2 separate regions of the Homo sapiens genome follow, and region 1 is linked to region 2. Evidence: promoter capture Hi-C in 16 types of primary human blood cells and fetal thymus (Javierre and others, 2016). All regions are on one chromosome and are shown on one strand. The core of a region is centred on a gene start or on the middle of the fragment in contact, and the rest is flanking DNA. Distances in the headings are between cores, read along the strand shown. Region 1 holds the start of MGMT (O-6-methylguanine-DNA methyltransferase). Region 2 holds the start of INPP5A (inositol polyphosphate-5-phosphatase A).

Region 1 (7,114 bases), core at 710-3,209, 3.1 Mb after region 2:
CACCCTAGGCAACATACGGAGACCCTGGCCTCTAAAAACAACAACAACAACAATTAGCCAGGTATGGTGGCGCACACCTGTAGTCCCTGGTACTTGGGAGGTCAAAGCAGGAGGTTCGCTTGAGCCCAGGAGCTTGAGGCTGCAGGGAGCTATGATCTCACCACTGCACTCCAGCCTGGGCGAAAGACCAAGACCTTGTCTCTAAAAATAATAAAATAATATTCTGCGGTAAGACCCCAGCTCTTTCAGAAAGTAGCTGCATTAAAAACTACTTGTCCCAGGAAACAGAGGGTCAGGAAGGACCGTAGCAACAGCCCAAGAGCCGAATGAGCACAGGGCCCTGCAGGGTCTGGGAGGCTCAATGTGTCCCCTGGAGGGACTAGAGTCCCAAACGGAAGTCAAAAATCTCAGGGCAAGTGGATCTGGACATGGAACTTTATGCTGGGGAAGGGGGTCAGAATGAAGTGCAGAAACAAGAATAATGCTAAAGGAAAAGATAATGCAGAAAATTCAGTTTTGCCTCCATTTTTTTTCTATCAAAGAGAATATACTGAAAAGAGCATTAGCACCAAAAAGAAAAATGGAAGGTCTGAATCACTGGCTCCTAAATGTGTGTCCTCTGCAAAACAGAACAGACAATTTAGTAACTTTATTTTATTATAAAATACTGAAAGAGTCAGGGTTTTGGTGTCCTAAGAAAGGGTGGGAAGAGGACTGGAGAGGAACAAACTCTGAGGGGGCAATGGGGAAGGCAAGTTCTTTTTCAGGCCCTTCCTACCCCCTTCTTCCCTGCAAAAGGACAGAGGAGGCCCTGATTGAGACACCTGGGGAGGAAACCCAAACAACGAAAAGTAAGGCCCAGGTGATATCAAAGTAAGACCTCAACAAGGTTCAAGAATCTGAGCAGCTGAACAAGGTGCTACCCAATGTATACCTAGGGCTCTATTTCTTTCAACCTTACTAACAGCAAAGCCTTTTTAAAGTAGTGCCTAATACTATTAGTTAAATCCTTATTTTGATACAGATTTTTTTGTTTCCCCTTCAGGACAGTTTCACTCTCGTCGCCCAGGTTGGAGTGCAATGGCGCAATCTCGGCTCACTGCAACCTCCGCCTCCCAGGTTCAAGCAATTCTCCTGCCTCAGTCTCCCAAGTAACTGGGATTACCAGCATGCACCACCACGCCTGGATAATTTTTGTGTTTTTAGTAGAAACTGGGTTTCACCATGTTGGCCAGGCTGGTCTCAAACTCCTGACTTCAGGTGATCCACCCACCTCGGCCTCCCAAAGTGCTGAGATTACAGGCGTGACCCACTGTGCCTGGCCCAGATTTTTTTTTTTTAATGAAGATATATACATTGAAAAGTACCTGAGTATAGCTCCGTACTGGTGGTCTACTTCATCCAGGCCCCTGACTGTGGCAGACACTACTCCACTATTCAAATTCCAACCCGAGACAGAGGGCCCAGGAAGAAAGACACGCGGCAGAGCAAGGCCAGCTCTCCTCTGCTACTTGCAGGCAGACTCCGGGTCTGGGCAAGTATCCTGGCCCTCTGAGTTAACGTGATATTAACAATCAGCCAGGCTCTTGACGCGGTTTCCTTCAAAGTTTTCACACCCCCACCCACCAGGTGCGCTAAGCTTTGGGTTTTTAAAATCTTGTTCATCTCCCAGAGTGTTTTAGCCATTGAGAGGGCCCTGAAAATAACAAAACCATCTCCTAGACACCTGCCCAGGGATGGGGGAGATGACGGGAGAGCCTGACTTAACAGATACTCTATAGGTTTCTATTTGGATGTCTATGTAAATAACCAGTCTAATTCTCAGCTCTCTGTGCTTAACATTCTACTGAGAACAGCTCTCTGGACCAAGCCGCTTCCCTGTCTGATGATGATCTCAGCAGGCATAGGTTGCACACACATGTACAAAGTCTGCTTTCCAGGACAGAAAGCCAGCTACTCAGCTGAAGCAACTGAGAGCAAACACCACCCTGAGATTTCAGGAGATGATGAACCCAGGAGTGCGAAATACATAGTTCAGAACTCCTCTGCGGTGTTATAACCGACATTACGGTGCCCAGTGTGTGTGGCTCTCCAGCGAGCCTTGCTTACTCTAAGTGTTGATGAATACAGTTAGGGTATGATGTACACAAACACCAGCCATAGTAACCAGAAGGCCCCTAGAACTTGGCCTCCAGCAGGAAGGAAATATGGGACTCTGCCTAAGTATGCTAAAGGGTTGCTGCAAGCCAAGGCCCGCGCAGGGGCTTCTGGAAGCTTCCTGGAGCAGCTGGCGGAGGGAAAGCTGGCAGCATGGAAGGGTAGGAAGAACCCGGGGCCCGGGCCTGGGGCTGGCACCTAGAGGTAAGGCAGGGGCTGCCACGACCCCCGCCACACGCCAGTCCACAGTCACTGCAGCGCAGCCTAGTCCAGGAACCCCAGGCCCGGGGAAAGGCTGGGCAACACCTGGGAGGCACTTGGGGCGCACCTGGAGCTCGCCCGGGATGGGTGGGGGTCAGGGCGGCCCCACACCCGACGGCGAAGTGAGGGCGCCTGCAGGACCACTCGAGGCTGCCACCGTCCCGAGGGAGAGCTCCGCACTCTTCCGGGAGCGAGGCGACCCAGACACTCACCAAGTCGCAAACGGTGCGCACCGCGAGGACCTGCGGGCGTCGGGACGCAAAGCGTTCTAGGGGCGCGGGCTGTCCCAGCATATCCGGGGCGCGGGGGCGGGGCCGAGGGGCACGGGGATGGCGGCGTGGGGCGGGGTCTAGAGCGGGGCGGAGCCGAGGACCTGAGAAAAGCAAGAGAGCGCGCGGGGGCGGGGCCGGGGCGCGCGGGGGCGGAGCTGGGGCGGAGCCCGGGAGGGGCGGGGTGTTCCCGCCCGACCGGGTCGGCGCATGCCCTGTGCGGCGGCGCCGGGCCTGAGGCAGTCTGCGCATCCTCGCTGGACGCCGGCACGCCGGCCCTGGTCCTCCGGCAGCGCCGCTGCCCTGTGCGCCTGACCCGGATGGCCCTTCGGCCGGTACAAGCCGGGCGGCGCCTTCCCAGCTTCCGCCTGAGGCTCTGTGCCTTAGTTTGCCAAATGGCCCGTACCTTTTCCTGTCACAGGGATAGTCCGCGGGCGTGCAAGCGACCTGCCACGTGCCCGAGTGGTCCTGAAAGCGCGCGGGGGTCGTAGGACGGCGCCCGCTTAGTGAGAATCCCGGTCCTGCTCGGGGCGGCTACGCTGAGCCCGGAGCGCGAGTCTCTCCCCTCCTGGTGCCGCTCCCCTAGTCAGGGACCCCCAGACCAGCAGAGACCCTGTCAGGGGGCCGTGGGGGCAGCCTCCAGGGCCTGTGGTGGGCGATGCCGTCCAGGGGCTGCAGTCACCGATGGCCTAGACACTGCCAGAGCCTGACTCAGCCGCTCTCCAGAGAGCACACAGGGTGCCAGGCCCTGCTTGGGGTTGTGTGGACGTTATTAGGAGTTGAATTGTGTCCACCAGAGAAGCTATGTTGGAGTCCTAACTCCCAGTACCTCACAATGTGACCTTATTTGGAGATGGGGACTTTACAGAAGCCATCAATTAGTGGGCCCCTCATCCAGTATGACTCGTGTCCTTATAGGCAGAAGGCCGCTTGGGGAGGAGGATTGGAGGGCTGCACCTGCAAGCCACCAGAAGCCTAAGAGGACAGACCCTTCCCTGGAGCCTTCGGAGGGAGCAGAGGACACTCTTCCCTGGAGCCTTCAGAGGGAGCAGGATCCTAACACACCTGGGTTTCAAACTTCTGGCCCCCGGAAGTGTGAGACAATAGGTTTCTGTTGTTTTAAGCCACTCAGTGTGTGGCACTTTATTATGGCAGCCCCAGGCAATGGGTACAGAAACCATTGTCTCTAACGTGGTTGGCATAAGCACCCCAGGGAGTAGTATCATCCCTGGAGGCTTCGGAGAGGTCACACACCCCTTGGCAGGATCCCATCCAAGGCCCACATGTTCTAAGCCACCATGCTACGGGCCTTCTAGGTTCTGTTTGTTATCTTAATGGAAAGGGGTCTTCACCTTCCCGGTGAAGTTTCCCTGTTGGGATTCGGCCAATGCTCATACCTTCGTATTTGTGACTTGCAGGATCCAACATATTAGCATGAGTGATAAGGGTTGTTCAGAGGAGAACTTCAGCAGGATTTGCTTTGGGATGAGCCCTGGTGACAATACAGGCTGCATCATTGATCCTCTGAGGTTCCCCACCCCGACCCTGCCTTGGATGAGACATGTTTTAAATAGCTGCTTGTGGGAAATAAACTAGGCCCTGAGTACACGATATAATGGTCAAATCAAGGCACTTTTTCCCCACTGAACCTGGACACAGCCTCGGAATCCTTCTCAACACTGTGTTCCAAGCAGCCATTCACATTTAAACTAATGTGGAAGGACAGATGAAACATGTTTGCCCTTGGCTCTGGTTTTTTCCATTAGCCTTCTATAAGACTTCGGGAAACTCGTCTGACTTCTCTAATCCTCAGTTTCATACTCTGTAAAGGAGTCTCATGATAACGTACCCTACGTGTGTACAAACTATCCTTCCATATTAGGGCATGTGTGCATAGGGAAAATAAACCACCAGCACCACACCACACTACTAAGAAATAATGCTATACACCTGGCCACTTACAGCCTGTTACTACCAGGACCCAGTTAGAACCGGGATCTTAATAGAACCAAAGGAAAAACAATGCCGAAATGGAATCAGAGTGCCGACTGATATTCTAACAAGTGTGCTGTTAAGTAGTTTTGCAGTTAACACATGACTCATACGTTTATCTGAATAATATTTTAAGACGAATCCCTAAACTCTTAAGAAAAAGAGACTGGCCAGTCTTAGCATCTCTAATTCCCCACCCTAGGAAAGAAAGGCCAATGTGGTCATCCAAAGGCCCTTTAGGAGGGCCCTGTGGGAATGGGGAGGCGGTCCACGAGAGAAAGTGCTGGCTTCCCAGGGAGATGTGTGGACCTGGCCCTGGCTGTACTGAAAGAACTCAGTCCCCTTGCTGGCGTGGTGGGAAGAACTATGTGAAGGGCCACAGCTACTTCAGTGGTAAGGACTGTGTCAGGGGCTCCAGGATCAGGAGCCAAATAAGGGTCTCAGTGCAGAGGGGAAAGAGGAAAAAGGCCACCACCTGACCAAGGACTGGCCTGCAAAAGACCAGGATTCAAGGATGTGACTGCTTAGGCTGTCTGATGAGCAGAACTCAAACTCACACTCCTTACACCTGCTGGTGCAAGCTCCTCCCTTCATCATGGTAATTTCAAAAACCCAAGTTTTCATCAAGAGCTCCCCACGCCTCTCCCCCTTGTCCCATTACAATCTCATCATCGCCTGTGTGTTCGTCCTACTGTTAAAGGAACACAGGATGGCTCCAAAGCCGGGAGGTCGCCGGGTCCACTGAAGAGTAAGGAACACAGGACAGGGAGGCTCGGATGTGGTGCCAGCCCTGCCCCTCACTGAGCAACCACCTGACTTCTCTGTTCATAGGATGACAGTGCAGGACTGGTTGGGTGAGATTCCTTTGAGGTCTCCCATCTTCAGATTAACAAATCACAACCCCTTTTCCTCCAGACACAGATTCCTATGAAGAACTTTTTACAAAAGAGGTGGGAAAACCACAAAAGGGTATGCTCAACTGCAGTCCGACTTCCTCAAGGAGCTCCCTGGATTTCCTTTAAGATCAGCCAGCTTTCTTGTGGGCACTGGGAACAATGTTAATCTGCATAGTTTCTTTAAACATCCAAATGGATACCTTTCGGGTTAAGCAAATGAACATGACATGCGATTGCTTCTAATGATTTGCAACCCAAGAAATTTGTTTAATAAGCCTGTCTTCCCAAGCTACTTTTGTGACATTAGAGACCACTTACAACAAAGCTGCCTTCAGTAGTCAAACTTAATCCTTACTACCCTACCTTTGGGAAATGAAGGGATTTTATAACGATCACATAAAACCTTATGTGGTTTGAAAGCCCCAAACTCCGGACAAATGTGTGATGGTCGTGTAACAAAAGAAACATATTACAGAGCTCCCCACGTTAAGTGTTTTACATATAGTTTGCTTTTAGGATAGCATCTCAAGTGGAGGGTTTTGCTGATTAACACAATTGATTTTCTTAGTCCCAGTGTTCCTGTAAATGTTGGAGCCAAGAGCTGGAGTCAGCGCCTTGGACCTGGGAGAGGCCAGGAGGCCAGGGAGCCTCAAGCACTCTGGAGGAAGAAGCCTGAAATGAAAAGGTGGGGGCCATCGGTACCGGGGTTGAATGCCAGGTGCTTCTGATTACGCTCCTGTGTGACACTAGTTGTCAGCATGGCAGAGGCATCATGGTGTAACTGCAGCAGGGAGTGTAATCTACTAGTGGGCAGGAGAGAGGGCGGGAAGGAGGGACTTCAGGCTTTGCCTCACATAGAGGGTAAGGGAATGGTGCAGGGTGGAGAAAGGGGATGGAGGTGCAACTAAAACAGGAGGGGCTCCTTAGCTCTTGCTTTCCTCCAAAGAGGCAGAACATCCTCCTGCCAGGAGCCCCTGGGAGCTCCTGTTGAGAACTGGAACCCTTCAGGCCCTTTTGTGTCAAGAAGGGCATGGAGGAGAATTCCTAAAGAAACGAACCAGAGGCAGCCCACAGACTCCTATTAGAAAGACTTTTCCTGAAACTTCCTTTGCCAGTTTGTGGGTGCAGGGCCTGGAGATGGATTTATGGGACTCGTTGCAGGCCCCTGTGGGGCTTGTAGTGGAATGGCACACAGATGAGGAAATAGTTTGCTCTCTGGAGCAGCGACCTCTACCCAGGAGATGCGTAGGGGCAGTGGGAGTACGAAAGAGGCCCTTTCCTGCACTGACTGTCCCTGCAGGAAGCCCTTTCTTTTTTTTCTTTTTTTTTTTTTTCTCTTTTTCTTTTTTTGAATTGGAGTCTCTCTCTGTCGCCTAGGCTGAAGTACAATGGTGCCATCTTGGCTCACTGGAACCTCTGCCTCCCGGGTTCAAGTGATTCTCCTGCCTCAGCCTCCTGAGTAGCTGGGATTACAGGTGCACACCACCATGCCCAGCTAATTTTTCTGTATTTTTAGTAGAGACGGGGTTTCACCATATT
Region 2 (7,747 bases), core at 2,657-5,156:
CGGCCAACACCTGAGGGGGTGCCTGTGATGTGGGATGATGTAATCGCTCTGCCAGCTAGTGCAGTGAGCTATGTATTCTCATGCAGTCTCAGCTCCCAATATGAGAAATATTGGTAGTTATAACCAACATAAACAAGAACTCTTTCGGGTCCTCCATAATTTCTAGGAAAGTGAGGGATAAGGGCTTGGGGACCGGTACACTGTAAGGCATTTACCGCAACACTGTCTGCACAGGGTCAGACACAACCCCAGTGGGGACAGCCCCGCAGCCCGCAGCATGGCCAATCTGGGGTCACAAAGATGGAGTAGTGATGAGCAAACAGGGGCTGCTGAGTGAGATTCCGTGTGGATCCCAGGATGCTACAAACCACAGCTGAAGTGGATGCACGCAGCGTTTTGAGAGGGGTGACCTCTGGACCAGGGACAGTGGCTCACACCTGTAATCCCAGCACTTTGGGAAGCCGAGGCAGGTGGATTGCTTGGGCCCAGGAGTTCCAGACCAGCCCGGACAACACGGCGAAACCTGGTCTCTACAAAAATTAGCTAGGCATGGTGGCATGTGCCTGTGGTCCCAGCTACTTAGGATGCTGAGGTTCACCTGAGTCAGGGCGGTCGAGGCTGCAGTGAGTTGTGACCGCACCACTACAGCACTCTAGCCTGGGCGACAGAATGAGACCCTGTCTAAAACAAAAACAAGAGGGGGAGGAGGAGGGGCCTTAAGAGGGGAGACTTTCAAAACTGCAAAAGCAAAAGCAAACCACCTATCACTTGTGCACAAAAGGAAAACAGAGTCCGCCACAGTCCGGGATATCTGCTTCAGATTCAAACACCTTCCTCCTCGGAACTGTGACCGGCTCCAGCACTGGTCACAGACGAGCTTGGCTTCCAACACGGTGAGACTGGGCGAGAAAGATTCCTTCACAGCCTGAGCACTGCCTGCAGGGTGCGTTCGTCAGCACGGGACGGGCTGCACAAAGGCAAACAGAATCTCAAAGCAGGTCCCCTGAAATCCAGGACAAACCAAGAAACCAAAACTTCCTTCACTCATGAATTTCCTTCCACCGGCCAGGCTTCTGGCCCACAAGTACCACACCCCAAACCTCAACCAAGGAAGGGGGCCTGGGAATGTGAGTGCCTGGCTGGTTTCCACTGAAGGAGACTGGGTCTGGCCCCCGGGGACTGAGCTGCACACATTAAGAAATCTTCAGACACGGACAGATAAGTTTCCACTCAGCCCTGAAATCACAATGCACCTTTCAGAATTAACCTATGTACTGTTGACCTAAACAAATGTTCCTTCTAAACATAAACATAATGCAAAATTCCACATAGCCTTTAAGAAAAATGAAAATTCAGAGAGAATAGGTTGCTAAACAAAAGTGAATTAAGTTACCCAATTTAATATCAACAGAGATAAATACGTGTATACAATTGAAACACAACAAAAATGCTAGAACTCAGAATCAAAGATTACTGGAAAGAATGTCTGCACAGTAAAACTCGTTTCCCTTTGAGACTAAAATGCCCCAGCAAGCTTAATGCTCCTGACATTTCTGAGGCTTTGAAGCCGCAGCTAACGGATCTGAATCATCTGAACAAAACCATGCTATAGTGACATGTTACTGGAAAGCCTAGAATAGAACGCCAAATATACAGACACACACCCATGCCAGGCACTTTTGTAGAAAATGATCAAACATAAACCTAGATGAAGTTGTTAATAATAAAGTGTGAGGAAAACCAGTTCCTCCCCAGCAGGTCAGTATAATACATGGGCACCTGGAAGTTAAAATAAGAAAAACAGAAAAACAGCGCCTTTTGTTAATAAAAACCAAACCTAGCCTGTGCATGAACTGAGCTTCATCAAACACTTCACCCATGCTTGCTGCCAGCAAAGACACAAGACCTCCTCCTGAAATGGAAACCACGCGTGCATCAGTGGCACACATCCGTCATAAAGCTGGTGCGGTGCCCCACTGTTCACCTAGGGAGGGAGGGAGGGAGGGAGGGAGCGTCCGTGGCTCCACGGCCTCCATCTGGGCCACTTGGAGCCTCACTCTGCTTTATTTGGGTTGGCAGCAGGAGTACCAACAGCAGGGTGGCACCGTGGCTGAAACGCCAAACTAGGTCAGACCGGCCTGCCTCTGGGGAGCTCCCAGTGCGCCCTGGGCCTCAGCTCCCTGGTCTCTCCAGAGATGGGGGCACCCTGGGATCCTGGGTGGGAATGAGGCTTGGGTGGGAGGGGCCCTAGAAGGTAAAGGCCATAGGCAGTCAGCATCCCCTTTCTGGCCCTGAAGAGCTTCTCAGCATCTTTTTCTTCAATAAACAAGAAATATAAAGTCCTACAGTGCTTTACAGACTTCCCTTATTTACGAACTAAAGAGATACTAAGTGGCAGGGTTAAATGGGGGCACCCTACCCTCTGGCCCTGCAGGGACAGACAGACAGTGAGGCCGGCACCCAGGCATCCAGGAGCTGGGGCTGACAGCCAGAGTGGAGGGCCTAGGCTCAGAGGACAGGGGCCAGGGGTGGGAGTCAAGGGTTAGGGTTTGGGAATTCTGCAGGCTCAAGGCCCAGGCTTTAAGACCAGGATTCAGGATTCAGGATTCAGGGGCAGGAGCTTGTTGGAGGAAGGGGCCAAGGATGGGATCTAGGAACCAGAGTTAGGGGCAGGGTCCAGAATTGGGTTTGGGGCCTGATTCTGGAACCAGGGTTCCAGGTTCAGGGGTCAAGGACAAGTGTTCAGGGCCATAAGCTGGGGCCTGAGGTTGAAATTCAGGGTTCAGAGTCAGGCTAGATTGGCTTTAGAGGCAAAGGGCCACAGTATGAAGGCTGGGATTCTAGGGCTAGAATTCAGTGATTGGGGAACAGGGACAGGAGGTTGGGGCCACAGCCCTGTGTCAGAAGTTCCTGGGTTAGGGTTTGTGGTTATGTTTCAGGGTTTGGGGTCCAGGGCTCAGGGACCAGAGACAGACGTTTGAGAGCAGGTTCTGTAACCAGAGTTCTGCAGTCAGGATTTGTGGTTCCAGTGACCATGGACCTGGGGTTCAGGGCCAGGGTTGGGGATGGGCATTCCAGGGCCAGGGTTCTGAGGATTCGGAAATCAGGGCTGGGGCTGGGTTTGGTGCGCACAGACCCGGTTTCTGGGGTTTGGGTTCCAGGAACTGTTAACAGGGGTTCTGACAGGGTTTTAATATTGGAGTTTCGAGGTCAGGATTTGCAGACAGGAGTTCAGAGGCAGGGTCCCAGGGTCAACGGTCAGCTGCTGGAGTCTGGAGGATGGGGTTCGGGGATTCAGGGCCCAGGTCTTCAGGTCTCGGGCTTGGGGATCAAGACAGGGGTCTGGGCTCCCAGACTTGGGAATCAGGACAGGAGTCTGGGGTCCCGGGTACAGGGATCAGAGTCTGGGGCCTCTGGGTCTGGAGGTTCACGGTCCAGGGTCCAAGGCTTGCAGTTCGGGACCCCGGGGTCAGGGTCGGGGGTTCCGGGCTTGGGGCCTGCCGCCGGCACGGGGGACTTACGTCGTCGAAGAGCGAGCCCACGTTGGCCGTGACCAGCAGCACCGCGGTGCCCGGGGCGGCCGCCTTCCCCGCCATGGTGCCCGGGCGGCGCGGGCGCTGGGCTGGGCGGCGGCGGCGGCGGCCGCTTCCTCCGGGACCGGCCGGCCGGGGTCTTCGCGGGGCCGCGGGGCGTCAGCTGCGCCGGGGGGCGGCCCCGGGGCGCATCGCGGGCTCGGCGGGTCGGCCGGGCCTGGCCGGGGCTCCGGCCTCGCGCTCGCTCGCTCGCTCGCTGCTCCGCGGCCCCGCGCCCGTCGCTCGCCGCCGCGCCTCACAGCGGCCCGCGCGCAGCCATTAGATCCGCTGGGAAAGTTCCCGCAGCCGCCGCCGACTCAGGCTGAGGGCAAGTCCCGCCCCGCGGAGCCGAGCCCGGGGCGGGGCCTGGGCGGGGCGGAGCCTGACTCGGGGTGGGGCCTGTGCGGGGTGGAGCCGGGCCTGGGGCGGAGCCTTGCTGGGGGCGGAGCCTTGAGGTGCGGAGCCTGAGTTGGGCCTAGATCTGAACAGAGTGGGGCGGGGCCTGCGGGGGGCGTGGCTTGTGCGGGACTTGGTGTCCTTGTGGAGGCGGGGCCTGCCCCGGGGCGGGGCCTCCTTTCGGGGCGGGGCCTACGCGGGGCGCTCTTGCGACCGGCGGCCTAGTACTGGTCGCTCCCGGAGGGCGCTCCTGTCAGTCAGGCCCGCAAGAACGCCGCGCCCCCGCCCCGCCCCCCGCGCCGCGGCTGCGCACAGACTCCGCCCTTCGCACTTCTATGACGTCACGGCCCTGCTCCGGCGGCGCCTCTTAAAGGGGCCCTGGGTTCCGGGCGCCGGCGGCGGGTGCGCTCTCTTGCGGCTCTGAGGGGATGTTCCAGCCCCCGCGCGGCCGCAGTCGTCCAGCCGCGTGCCGGGCGTGCGGGGGAGGGGAGCCCACCGGGGCGGCGGCAGTCGCGCCTGCAGGGGCCGGGCCACGCGCGCCCGGCTCTCCGCGCAGACGGAGCGTGGACCGTGCAGCTTCCCGGCGCGTCCACCCGGCTCCCTGGCCGCGACCTCACTCACGAGGAGCGGCTGCGGCCCAGAGAAGACGGAGGGGAGGCGGCGTGAGGCCAGGCGCATCCTGACGTCGCGGAGGGCTCCGGCCCGGGCCAGGCTGGGTCTCAGCGCGGGGCGTGCAGGGAACCCTCGCAGGGACGAAGGGGGCTCCAGGGGAGGGGGCTGGTGCGGGCCCAGGAGCGCAGAGCACGGAGGAGCAGCCGGCTCGGCGCGGGCCCCGGGGCAGCGATGCTGATCCTGGCCGCCGGAGGGGCCAGAGCATGGGCTGGACCCTGGGTCTGAGGCCGCGGGGACACAGCCGCCGTGAACCGGGACATGCCTGTAGATGGAGGAGGAGAACCACATTTGTCATCTTAAAGCTTCCAGTAGCTACATTTTTTAAAGGTAACAAGTAATAGCCAAAGTTAACAATACGTTTTACTTAACCCAATAGATAGATACATCATTCAACATGTAACCAGAATTTAACAACCTCAGTGAGATTCCTTCACAGGAAGGCTTTGCACGGGCACCTGCCTCTTGGCAGCAGCTCACAAGGCCGCTTCCAGTGCTCAGCAGCCCTGTGTGGCCAGTGGCCACCATGCGGAGCAGGCACTCCGGAGGATTTTGTGGACACAGATTTAGGGGCGGTCAGGGCCTGGCAATGGGCTCTAGCGAGGCTAGCCTCCAGCTTCTGAGTAAACCGCCAAGGCAATGCCCAATGACATCAAAAGGGGCTTGTTCTGTTCTAGGAAGACACCTGCTGCCAGGGCGGGGCGGCAGGAATGGTGCTGCAGGCTCGGGCCCCAGGCCTGTGCTGAGGCCGCATCACTGGCTTGTGTTAACACCCCCAGGGTTCCTCCTTACGGCCACCGCTGAGCAGGACTCCAGCAAAATCCATTTGATGTATAAACCAATGTCTACTTTAGTCAGTAGGTGCCTGCTACAGACTGAATTCCGCCCGCCCCACCCCACCCCACCCCGCAAATTCATGGGTTGAAGCCCTAACCTCCAATGTGACTGTATTCGGAGGTGGGCTAGCGGGGGTAATTAATGTTAAGTCGTGCAGTAGGGCTGGTGTTTAATGTTAAGTCGTGCAATAGGGCTAGTGTTTAATAGAAAGGGCTCAGTGCTGTCCCCACCCTTACATGTGCAAAAGAAGTGGCAGTGTGAGTGCACAGTGGGAAGCTTCACCCCAGCCAGCCACAAACCCTGCACCAGAAATCCAACGCTGCTGGAACTTGATCTTGGATTTCCAGCCCCCAGAACTGTGAGAAGTAAAAGTCTTGTTTCAGCCTCCCAGCCTGTGATATTTCGCTACAGCAGCTGAAGCTGACTGATGTAGTCGCTTATTTTTCTTTTTAACAAAATCAGCACATGCTAAGGGTACCCTTAGTAGAAACCAAATGTGGGGGTGTCACTGATCCCTGGAACGTGCTTTCTGAGAAGGGACATTGCCTCCTCACTTCTCCCCGCAGGCTGTGCCCTCACACCCGGCTGAGGCAGCGTCCCCCACCCCTTGTGCCCTCCCTGCTCCCCCCTCCTCCTCTCCTCGCCAGCCAGCTCCTGCCATGCCTGGACGTTGGCCTCTGCCCTTCCTCCAGGCAGCCACCTCCTCTTTCCCATGCACCCCTCACCCACCACAGGTTCAGCCCCTCACAGTTCTCCTGCCTCCTATATTCCGTGCTCATTACCAGAACCTCCAGAACCCAAGGGGGTGCGGCCTGGACCTCCCACTTCTGCATCCACGGCCCTGGGCATAGCCTGGATGTTCTCATCACCAATGACCACACCAAGGCCGAATCCAGGCACCTTGCCCTCCCCACCACCTCCTCTCCTTTGGTTTCACTTCCGTGGGACCTCATGGAAACCTACAGCCCATGCTGCTCCCATGCCTTCGTTAGCCACCGCCACACGTGCACACCCACACAGAAACACATGCACACGCATGCACTTGCACGCACACACATCTGCACATGCGCATGCACGAACATGCACACGTGCACACATGACCACGCATGTGCACACCTCTTCTTCCTGCCTTACTCTGCTTCTCTCTGAGGGTAGAATCACTTTGTGTACCCACTCCCTCCCCTCTCCCTGCCCCCCAGCACTCACCCAGCTGGCCCCCAGGACTGATTTACTTGCTTACAGTGAACCTGCGCCCAAATTAGAGAAAACTAAATTGGGGGAAAAACTAGACAACACCTTATTTCCATGCCCCTGGCATCTCCCAGGTCTCAGGCACACCCACGTTGAGCACTAGGCCTCCTGGCTCTGCGCATGTGCACTCCACCACTCCAAGAGGCCACTGCAGCCTTCCCCTTCTCTAACCACCAACTACGCTCCCTGGAGGAAACGTTTGCCCTTTGTTGAGGAAGGATTTGCAGTCTGGGATTTTCCCACTGTCACCCTAAATAACAGAGAGAGGCTCTCTAAAAGAAAATGAGATTTACTCGGGAACATTCATTGCAATAGAATATGTGTGCCATCGTAAATTGGGTGTGGGTCAAGGAAGGTAAAGGAAGACAAAGATTTTCAAAGGAAACAGGAGGATTACATCATTGTTTTGAATCAATGATCCTTGGCTACAAGGATCTCCAGGAAGGATGGTGCCAGTCTGAGGCTGGACAGGCAGCTACTGGGCAGATGTCTTCCCAGAAGTGTTTGTGTGTGTAAGTTGTGATGGTCTTTGTGCACGGCTGTGATTTTTGCAGTCTTTTGTGATTGTTCTTGCTATCAAGCATGTCTGCATAAGAACCCTCCCTTCATGCCCTTCCACAGTCTATATGTCAGGGTTTTTAATACCAGTGACTCCATTTGGATTCTGACTGTGATCACGCCACTAAGTCAACACATCCAGCATCTGGTGTCTGTCCTGCACATCCTCCATGCTGCTACATGGAATGAGGTGCCTGTCCCCGCCCAAGGCCACCCCCTCCTGGGTCACGTCGGCAGTTCACAAGCATGCTGCGGTCTCTCAGATCTCTGGAAGCCTCCAGCCTGTGCCCCTCCATTTTCCTCCCCCCTCTCTGCTCTCCTTGCTGCAAACCTTGTCCTAAAAGTCTGCCCATCTCTGCCCCGCATGCCAATGGACCACTCTTGTCCAGGCCCTCGAATTGTGCTTCTCATGCCCACACCCCATGGGGCATCCTAATTCAAGGGCCAGCCCCCCAGGCCTGATT

Evidence for each region. Contacts are between HindIII fragments. The CHiCAGO score rates a contact against its expected background, and 5 or more counts as called.
Region 1: a contact is called between a fragment that was not itself captured here and the fragment with the promoter of INPP5A in region 2, in 1 of 17 cell types (fetal thymus). The highest score is 5.0, in fetal thymus.

Annotation. Positions count from the first base shown.
Region 1 is chr10:129,462,813-129,469,926 of GRCh38, reverse strand. It overlaps MGMT (O-6-methylguanine-DNA methyltransferase), which reads right to left and starts at 2,686. Exons shown (of 5, transcript NM_002412.5): 1 at 2,631-2,686. RefSeq lists silencers at 2,387-2,586, 2,607-3,046 and an enhancer at 1,898-2,820. The HindIII fragment of the contact is 635 bases long and covers 1,642-2,276 here.
Region 2 is chr10:132,533,946-132,541,692 of GRCh38, reverse strand. INPP5A (inositol polyphosphate-5-phosphatase A) reads right to left here and starts at 3,906. Exons shown (of 16, transcript NM_005539.5): 1 at 3,522-3,906. The coding sequence starts at 3,596. It overlaps LOC107984282 (a long non-coding RNA gene), which reads left to right and starts at 4,770. Exons shown (of 4, transcript NR_158224.1): 1 at 4,770-4,967. RefSeq lists enhancers at 1-119, 1-414, 415-949, 2,956-3,005 and a silencer at 3,786-4,885. The HindIII fragment of the contact is 3,408 bases long and covers 1,537-4,944 here.